2 separate regions of the Homo sapiens genome follow, and region 1 is linked to region 2. The links are contacts of gene promoters, found by promoter capture Hi-C in human tissues and cell types (Jung and others, 2019). All regions are on one chromosome and are shown on one strand. The core of a region is centred on a gene start or on the middle of the fragment in contact, and the rest is flanking DNA. Distances in the headings are between cores, read along the strand shown. Region 1 holds the start of HEPN1 (hepatocellular carcinoma, down-regulated 1). Region 2 overlaps MSANTD2-AS1 (MSANTD2 antisense RNA 1).

Region 1 (5,251 bases), core at 59-2,558, 84 kb before region 2:
GCCTTCTTCCCTGGGCACCTGGTACCTGGGGACCTACAAGGTGGTGAGGGAAGGGTACGAGTACATTCCTTTTCCCTCTGACCTGGGCGCTAGCAAGGGCAAAGAACCCGAGCCTGCCAGCTTGGCCTCCTCCCACAGCCTCCCTCGGAGGCATGCCATGCCAAGCACTCTTTCTGTCTCTGTTCATGAATAAAAGAGATGGATGGGCTTATTCTTATAGAGAAGTGAATTTCACTTACTCCCCTGGCCCGAAAACTAGACCAAATGAGGAACTGTTTTAGCTCATCAAACTCATATATTCCTCCTGGCTTCCTTACAAAACAAGCCTTTCAAACAATCATTGTCCTCAGGAAAGTTGTTGAGCTTCCTCCAGCTGTGAGAATAAGTCCTAATCTCCAGAGAAATGGTGGGGGGAGGAGGAGGCTTATTGCTTCCCAGCATTTGGGGGGAACATGATCCAACCCCTGGCCTCCTGCCACCCATCTGCCCTGCTCCCACATGCTCAGGTCCCAGGGCACAGAAAAAGGGCAGACTCCCTAATCACACTAACATCAAAATAAAGAGGCTGGGCCGCTGTGTAGCCAGGACATGCCCATGCCACCGCCTATTGAACAGTTCATAGGAGTGGCAGTAATCTACTGTGTGAGGAGAGAGGGCAATTAAAAAGCTGAAAGAGAAGGAGGCCCTCTGTGTATTCCATTCCCTCCTCCTTAATGCCTCCAAGGGTCCTTGCATCCCTAGTCTCCTAAACTCCAGCTCTGATTCGCCATCAACCCATGGAGCAATTCCAAGGCCCCAGTTACCCATCACCTCCACACCAGGTCAAGTTTTGTCTCAGCCCCAAAGGCACTGACATTTCTAGTTTGCCCCCTCTGCCCTGAACCCCACAGCATGCCTGTCTCAGCTCCCTGTCCCTCGGCACTTCCCCAGGCTCATTTGAGCAGGTGTGCCTTCGCAGCTCCCCTAAACTTCCCAGGTGCCTCATCCATAATGAGATAATGCATGTAGGGGAAAAGTTTCTCAAGAAGGTGGAAGAGGCAGCAGGACTTGGATAAGGAGTACCTGCTGGTCAGCCTTGAGATGCACAGGTGAAGGTTAGGGTGAGATGAGAACATGCCATACCCTGGTGCTGAATCCCTGAGGGGCCAGCTTGCCAGGCTTAAGCCAAATCTGCCTTAAATTGGGGGTGGGGAGGGGTAAGTAAGGAAGTGGGGTTTGTTTTTGTGTTGTTTTCATCTTCATCTTTGTATTACTAGCATCCAGCAGAGTGCCTAGCACATACTGGATGCTCAATAAACTTTTGATGAAATGAAATGACAACTTTATTCCACATAAACAAGGGTAACAAAACAAGCTGCTTAAATATACCAGTCATTTCTCTTCTTCTCCTTTCACCTCCTTTACCCTCTTTCCAAACCCCAAATTGTCCGTTCCAAAATCACTTACCCGTTCATTCATTTACTTATTCAGGTGTTCTTTTATTTATTCGACAAACATTTGTTTACCTACCATGGACTAGGCCCTGTGCTAGACACTGCTGATACAGCATAACTATGTCAGGAAGACAGATCAGTAAACAGATTACAATATAGTGTGTAAAATGCAATGGCAGAAGTAGATACAAGGTGCTCTGGGAGCATGTAGATTAGATGTCAGCAAAGGCATCTTGGAGGAGAACAGACCTGAGTTGAGTCTTTCTTAGAAAGACTTGTTAGTTAATCTGGTTTTTAAAAGTATGAGAGGACACACTCCAAGCAGAGGGAGAAGCATGTATAAAAGCTTGGAAGTGCAAGACACGATGGGGGGGAATTCAGGGTACTGAGCCTAGCAGTTGATGAAATTATTTCAGGAAAGTATACAAAGTAGAAGGTGAAGAAAGCTGCAGATAGATTTCTGAGGCATCAGTATGTGTAGAAAATTTAAAAGGACTTCACCAAGAAGGCTTAAAAGGCACAGCCAGCAAGATAGGAGAATATATAGGAGATAACTATATCACACAATCAAAAGAACAAGAGAGTTTCAAGAAAAAGGGAGCATTCGGGACTACAAGGGCAGGGGGCTCACATATGAAATGAAGTTAAAAGTGCATGTTAAATTTGGCAACAATGAAAACATTGAGTGACTTGGCATAAGTAGTTTCAGACATGTAGTAGGGGTTAAAGCCAGATTGCAACAGGTAAAAAGTGATATGTGGAACTTCTCTGCTAAATACTTGAGACTAGATGTTTGAGAGGTCTTCCTGTTTCAAAACAACTAGGTCTTGCTTAAATGATATTTGTTTTGCATTGCTGGCTTCAAGAGATGGGGGAATTTTTTTTTTTTTTTCAGACAGAGTCTCATTCTTGTCACCCAGGCTGGAGTGCAATGGCGCAGTCTAGGCTCACTACAACCTCTGCCTCCTGGGTTCAAGTGATTCTCCTGCCTCAGCCTCCCGAGTAGCTGGGACTACAAGCACGTGCCACCATGTCCAGCTAATTTTTGTATTTTTGGTAGAGACAGGGTTTCACTATGTTGGCCAGGCTGATCTCAAACTCCTGACCTCATGATCCGCCCACCTTGGCCTCCCAAAGTGCTGGGATTACAGGCATGAGCCACTTCCCTGCCAGAGATGGGGGAAATTTTTAAGCAGTCAGAAGTAAAACAAAATTTAAAAGCACAGTGAGCTCAAAGTACTTAGCACTCATTAAATATGAGATTACCAAGGGAGGTGAAGCAAGATGGCTGAATAGAAGCCTTCACTGATTGTCTTCCTGCAAAAACACCAGATTGAACAACTGTCCACACAAAAAAAGCACCCTCATAACAACCAAACATCCAATGAGTGATCACAATACCTGGTTTTAACTTCATATCACTGAAAGAGGCACTGAAGAAGGTAAGAAAGACAGTCTTGAATTGCTGACACCACCCCTCCCTCATCACCCGGCAGCTGCCGCATGGAACAGAGAGAGAATCTCTGCACTTGCGGGAGGGAGAGTGCAGTCATTGTGGGGCTTTGCATTGGAACGCAGTGCTGCCCTGTCACAGGGAGAAACAACACCAGGCAGAACTCAGCCAGCACCCACAGAAGGAGCATTTAGACCAGCCCTCGCCAGAGAGGAATTACACATCCCAGTGGTTGGAACCTGAATTCCAAAAAGACTCACGACCATGGGTTAAAGTGCTCTGGGGTCCTAAATAAACTTTTAAAAGTCTGTCTAGGACACAAGGACTGCAATTCTAGGGGGGATTCCTGATGCTGTGCTGGGCTTGAAGCCAGTGGACTTGAGCATATGATCTAGTGAGACACCAGCTGGTGCAGCCAAGGGAGTGCTTGCATCATCCCTCTGCCAACACCAGGCATCACAGCTTGCAGCTTTGAAAAAGACTCCTTTCTGTGGTTGGAGGAGAGGAGCAGGAAGAGTAAACAGGACTGTGTATTGCAACTTGGATATCAGCTCAGCCACAGTAGGACAGGGCATAAGACAAGCTCAGCCACAGTAGGATAGGGCATAAGACAGAGTCCTGAGTCCCCCATTTCAGGCCCTAGCTCCCAGACAACATTTCTAGACACCCTGGGCCAGAAGGGAACCCATTGGTTTGAAGGGAATGACCCAGTCCTGGCAGCATTCATCACCTGCTCTCTCTAGAGCCCAAGGGCCCTCAATAATTTGCAATAGAACCCAAGCAGTACTTGCCATTGGCCTTGGGTGAGACTAAGAGACATGTTGGCTTCAGATGTCACCAAGCACCTTTCCAGCTGTGGTGGCTATGGGAAGGGGCTCCTTCTGCTTGAGAAAAGTTGAAGGAAGGATAAAGGGGACTTTGTCTTGCAGCTTAGGTACCGGTGTGGCCTCAGTGCGGTAGAGAACCAAGTGGGCTCTTGGGGTCCCCAATTCCAGGGTTTAGCTCTTGTATGGCATTTCTGGACCTGCCCTAGTGGCCATAGTGGAGCCCACTGCCTAGAAAGGAGAGTCCTATGCTTAGCAGCATTCATAAGCTGACTCAAGAGCCCTTGATCCATGAATGAACATCAGCAGTAGCCAGGCAGTATTGACCATGGGCCTGGGGCAGTGGTGACCAAGGGAAGAGACACCTCTGCTTGAGGAAAGGAGAGGGAAGAGTGGGAAAGACATTGCCTTGGGCTTGGGTGCCAGCTCAGCTGGAGTAAAATAGAGCACCAGGTAGATTCCTAAAGTTTCTTACCCCAGGCCCTGGCTCCCAGGTGACATCTCTGGACCTGCCCAGGACTGGTGGAAACTTGGCACCCTGAAGTAATGGATACAAGCCTGGCTGGCATTGCCACCTGCTGACTCTAGAGCCTTAGGGCCTTGAGCGAACATAGCTGGTAGCCAGACAGTGGTTACCACAGGCCTTTGGTGACACCTGGTGCTGTGCTGGCTTCAGGTCTGACGCAGCACAGTCTCAGTGATGGTGGCCACAGGGATACTTGTGTCACCCTTCTTCCAGCTCCAGGCAGCTCAGCACAAACAGAGAGAGAAGGAGAGAGAGAGAGAAAGGGAGAGAGAAGAGGAGAGGAGAGGAGAGGAGAGGAGAGAGAGACTGCTTGTTTTGGAGAAAGAAAAGGAAGAGAATAAGAGTCTATGTCTGATAATCCAGAGGATTCTTCTAGATCTTATCTAAGACCATAGGGTGGTATCTCTTCAAGTCTGCAGGAGCCACAGTGTTACTGGACTTGGGGTGCCCCCTAATGCAGATACAGCTGCAGTCACCAAAAACTAAATCACAACACCCAAGTTCCTTTGAATACCTAGAAAGCCTTCCCAGGAAGGAAGGGTGCAAACAAACCCAGACTCCAATGAACATCCACAAGCATCAAGACCATTCAGGAAATATGACCTCACCAAATGAACTAAATAAGTCACCGGTGACTAATCCCAGAGAGACACAGATGTGTGACCTTTCAGACAGATAATTCAAAATGGCTGTTTTGAGGAAACTCAAAGAAATTCAAGAGAACACAGAGAGGAATTCAGAATCCTATCAGATAAATTTAACAAAGAGATTGAAATAATTTAAAAGAATCCAGTAGAAATTCTGGAGTTAAAAACTGCAAGTGAAATACTGAAGAACACATCAGAATCTGTTAATAGTGGAATTAATCAAGCAGAAGAAAGAATTAGTGAGTTTGAAGACAGGCTATTTGAAAATACACAGTTATAGGAGACAAAAGGAAGAAGAATAGAAGAGAATGAAAGTATGCCTACGATATCAAGAAAATAACTTCAAAAGGGCAAATCTAAGAGTTTTG
Region 2 (4,770 bases), core at 1,983-4,482:
CAATGTGGCAGGGAAGCCGAAAGATTGGACACCCCTGGACTAGAGATTCACAGCTTGCATGAAAATCACCTGGAGGCCTTATTAACCCTGCCCTACAGTTTCTGATTCCTTTGATCTGGGGTACGGGCAGAGATATTGCATTTCTGAAAGTTTCCCAGGTGGTGACAGTGGTGATACTGGGGGCCACACTTTGAGAGTACTGGCCTACAAGGAAAGGAAAATAGGGGCAGGTGAAAAAAGGAAGGAGCTGAAGTCTTCAGTGCTGGAGGAGGTTACTGGAAGCTGAAGCTCTCCAGGGTACTTGGGTATCTTCACCCTCTGTGAGGGATCCATAGGCCAAATCCCCAAATAATTGTGGACATATTCCAGAATTCATATTCTAGTATTCGAGTGTGTGTGTGTGTGTGTGTGTGTGTGTGTGTTTCTGAAGACTTAGCACTCCCCCTAATGGCTTCAGATGATTCTGCACTCTCCTCAGCCTTTCAACGGGAAGCAAGAATTACTCTTATTTTCCCAGCCTAACTTGGTTATCCACTCCCATCTCTTTGTCACTGATGGAGCGGGGCATTGTCTTACACATTTGTTTACAAATTGAAGAGCATAGTTTTTTTTTACACAATAGTTTGTGTACTAATGAATGAATTAGTGCTATCTTTCCTCTTTAGGAGAACCTTGTTCTCCTAAAATCTACCTTAAGTCACATTTGAAGTGTTGTAGAACCACCTACCAGTGTTCTAAAACACTTCAAATGTGTTCATAGGGAATGAGTTCCAGATGGTTGCCTAAAAATTCTCCCCAAGGTGTCGGTGCCGTTGTCATCAGTTGGGAACTTTTGGCTGGCGGCAAGCACAACCCGAGTCAGAGGTTAAGGATGGATTTGCAAAGTGGAATTTTTAAGTGTGGTATATGGACAGATCAGATGAGAAAATCAAGTGGCATTTTATTTCTCACCACCAGGTGGCAGACCTAACCTCATTAATGAGAATCATCCCTAGACTTGAAGCCTGGCCTGAATTCTACTTTTTTCATATATGAGCCAGGGCAAAAGAGCTGTTTCTCTACTTAAATGACTCAGAAATTTGGGGTAGGGAGAACAATGCTTGAAAATATCTTTGTAGGCCGCGGTGGCTCACGCCTGTAATCCCAGCACTTTGGGAGGCCGAGGCGGGTGGATCACGAGGTCAGGAAATCGAGACCATCCTGGCTAACACGGTGAAACCCCGTCTCTACTAAAAATACAAAAAATTAGCCGGGTGTCGTGGCGGGCGCCTGTAGTCCCAGCTACTTGGCAGGCTGAGGCAGGAGAATGGCGTGAACCCGGGAGGCGGAGCTTTGCAGTGAGCCGAGATCGCGCCACTGCACTCCAGTCCGGGCAACAGAGCGAGACCCCGTCTCAAAAAAAAAAAAAAAAAAAAAGAAAATATCTTTGTAACTGCCGCCAATGTACTTGAGTAATCCCTTGAGCTTCCTGATCCGTGAGGAAGGGCTCGCTGATACTTTTTTTTCCTTCTGGAAAGAGGGAAAACATATGGATGTAACAAAATGGGTTACTTAAGAAAAATGTAAGCGATCTAACTTCTAACCAGAGGTTTCTGCCAGGGCATAAACACATGGCAGCCCTAAACAGCTTTGCAGGCACATGGCTTCCTTCACTTCCAGCCCGTCTGGCAGGCACCCTCTTAATTCCTACCAACTTAATTCCTACCACCCGAGTTCTTTGTTCTGTCGCCCATATTGAAGTTTCCTCAAACTAAAAATGAAAGCTTTATTATAATTCTGGAATCTACTCAGGGCCTTCTTAACTAAATTCTAACTTGCAGTATACGGACATGTAGTTGATCTCTCCTTTATCCCAAATGATCTTGACCCTCAGATCATAGTCAACGTATAAATTAAATTCAACCTAAATTATATAACTATAGCAAGGGTTACACACACACAGCAAGAATGCAGGACGGGCGCGGTGGCTCATGACTGTAATCTCAGCACTTTGGGAGGTCAAGGTTGGCGGATCACCTTAGATCAAGAGTTCAAGACCAGCCTGGCCAACATGGCAAAACTCCATCACTACTAAAAATATAAAACTTAGCCAGGTGTGGTGGCGTGTGCCTGTAGCCCCAGTTCTCAAGAGGCTGAGACACGAGAATCTGCTTGGGAACCTGGGAACCTTGAACCTGGAAGGCTGAGATTGTAGTGAGCCAAGACTGCACCACTGCACTCCAGCCTGGGCAACAGAGCGAGACTCTGTCTAGAAAAAATAATAATTATATATATATATATATCTTACAGGAGGGGTCAATGAATGTTTTGGGAGAAGGGCAGTGAAGATTTCTGTTCTACACACCTTTCTCATCTCAGGGCTATATTACAGCAGATTCTGACAGTATAGTAGCTTTCTTCACAATGTCAAGATCAGAGCAGATCTATACCTTACATAGAAGACAGAAAATTGACTATACCAACATCAGGTCCTCCAGCATAGGTGGGACATTACCTTTTCAGCCTGCAGGGCTTAGTACTTCTTTCAGCTGATCGGCTTCAGGCCTCTTCCTCATTTTGGAAAGGGCAAATCTCAGGTGCACACTGAAAATCTTAGACTAAGTAGCCTGGTACAGTGGCTCACGCCTGTAATCCCAGCACTTTGGGAGGCCGAGGAGGGTGGATCACGAGGTCAAGAGATCGAGAACATCCTGGCCAACATGGTGAAACCCTGTCTCTACTAAAAATACAAAAATTAGCCAGGCGTGGTGACATGCACCTGTACTCCCAGCTATTCGGGAGGCTGAGGCAGGAGAATCGCTTGAACCCAGGAGGCGGAAGCTGCAGTGAGCCAAGATCATGCCACTGCACTCCAGCCTGACGGCAGAGCCAGACTCCGTCTCACAAAAAAAAAAAAAGAAAATCTTAGACTAAGTAAAACCCTCCAGCCCAGAGTGCTTCTCTGCATTGGGCAATTCACTCTCACTGCCAGAGCTCCCTTATACACTTTAAATGCTTATAAATACACTAACAGACAGAGCCTATGGGAAACAATATAAGAGGATTGGATAGTAAGTATTTGGTTTTTTCTATGTAGTTTGTTAACAGAATCAGTCAAAATATATTTATGGAATGCCCACAGGCTACATAGCATGGTACTTCACCCTTCATTGAAAATCCATTAAAACAATTACTGGGTCATGCCTGGAAACTTTTTTCACAAAGGAATTTTCTTTAGTTGCTGGGTTGACAGGAACTAATTTGAGATGCAAAACTAACAACCCCATTTGAACTAGCAAGCCCTTATGTAAACCACTACAAGTGATATGTTTGAATTTATTCGCACCTGTGCCTGTATATATGGACTTAAAAGCTAAAGATATCGTGGTATTAATATGCATATAAGGGAAGGAGAGTTTTAAAAGTTAGTGAATCATCTTCCACTAATGCTTGGTAAATGTTTACCAAGAAGGTTGTGCCCTGGTTATAGGCCGGTAATGACCACCAATAAATAAAACTGTTTTCACCTCTATAACAGTTATGGAATGTCATTCCTTCTTGCCTTTCATACCAGGAAAACTAGGCTGAAGAAAAAAATCACTTCTTTTTAATCAAGGCAAAAACAGACTCACCCAACCAAAAACCAACCCTTGGTATTTGAAATTAGTTTATTAACATAGGGAGATTTCATATTTTTTTATTGTTTTCTCCCACCACTAACTTTAAGACTTTAACAACCTTTATTAGAATACACACACAGCTATATATATATATTTGGTTCTGTCTTCTCTAAATCATTTGTTTAACAAGGAATTTTTTTACTTAAGGCACTGGTATAGAAAATGTACCCCATTTCTTGCATATCTTGCATGTTATGGGGTCTTGTTAAGTGTTTCCAAGTTTGGTGGAATCACCACCATTTCTACCCCTGGTCCATATTTTTAGTTCCAGATCTTCTCTGCAACCACTATCCCAGTCCAAAACCCTCTACTGTATTCGCTGTCTTCTTAGTGCGGAGGAGAAAGAAAGAGCAGGGTTGGGCAGAGGGTCTTATTCTGCCTTAAAAGAAGGTTATACTTTCTGTCAAAGGATAGAACTCTGACTGACTTAACGAAAAATACAGTAGTATAAGTTTAGACCCAAGGTCAGATAGTCCTGGGGCTAAAGCTCAGATCCATCACTTAGCAATTATGTGATTTGCTGCAAGTCACCTAACTTCTCTGAGCCAAGGCTGCCCTTCTCACTTGTAAAGTGAAGCTTAAATAAGATAATACATATGAAAGGCTGGGTGTGGCAGTTGCACCTTAGTCCTTGCACTTTGGGAAGCCAAGGCCTGTGGAGCCCTTGAGCTCAGGAGTTCAAGATCAGCCTAAGCAACATGGCAGTAAGCTGTCTCTACAAAAAATACAAAAATATGCTGGCTGTGGTGGCATGTGCCTGTATTCCTAGCTACTTGGGAGGCTGAGGTCAGGAGTTCAAGACTAGCCTGAGCAACATAGTAACAACCCGTCTCTACAAAAAATACAAATATGCTGGTCATGGTAGTGCATGCCTGTAATCCCAGCTATTCAGGAGGCTGAGGTGGGAGGATCGCTTAAGCCCTGCAGATTGAGGCTACAGTGAGCTGTGTTAGTGCCACTGCACTCCAGCCTGGGAGATAGAGTGAGACCCTGTCTCAAAAAGAAAAAAAAAATGCACATGAAATGCTTAATGTCTGCCCTACTACAATGCATCAGAGAATAGAAGTTATTAGTATCTACCGGACCCAAACCTCTGTGAGAATAGAAGCTT

Evidence for each region. The method cuts DNA at HindIII sites, captures the fragments that hold promoters and counts their contacts. A contact is called where the count stands out against the background at its distance.
Region 1: a contact is called between the fragment with the promoter of HEPN1 here and a fragment that was not itself captured in region 2, in 4 of the 25 tissues and cell types used here (H1 embryonic stem cells, IMR-90 fibroblasts, adrenal gland and 1 more).

Annotation. Positions count from the first base shown.
Region 1 is chr11:124,915,307-124,920,557 of GRCh38, reverse strand. It overlaps HEPN1 (hepatocellular carcinoma, down-regulated 1), which reads right to left and starts at 1,308. Exons shown (of 1, transcript NM_001037558.4): 1 at 1-1,308. The coding sequence starts at 807. The coding sequence ends at 541. HEPACAM (hepatic and glial cell adhesion molecule) reads left to right here. Exons shown (of 7, transcript NM_152722.5): 7 at 1-1,353. The region is part of intron 1 of LOC107984406 (a long non-coding RNA gene); the gene reads right to left. The HindIII fragment of the contact is 7,901 bases long and covers 1-4,874 here.
Region 2 is chr11:124,833,347-124,838,116 of GRCh38, reverse strand. MSANTD2-AS1 (MSANTD2 antisense RNA 1) reads right to left here. Exons shown (of 5, transcript NR_103862.1): 5 at 3,630-4,770. Among named protein-coding and RNA genes, the nearest start is that of ROBO3, 30 kb to the left of the region's middle. The HindIII fragment of the contact is 4,862 bases long and covers 802-4,770 here.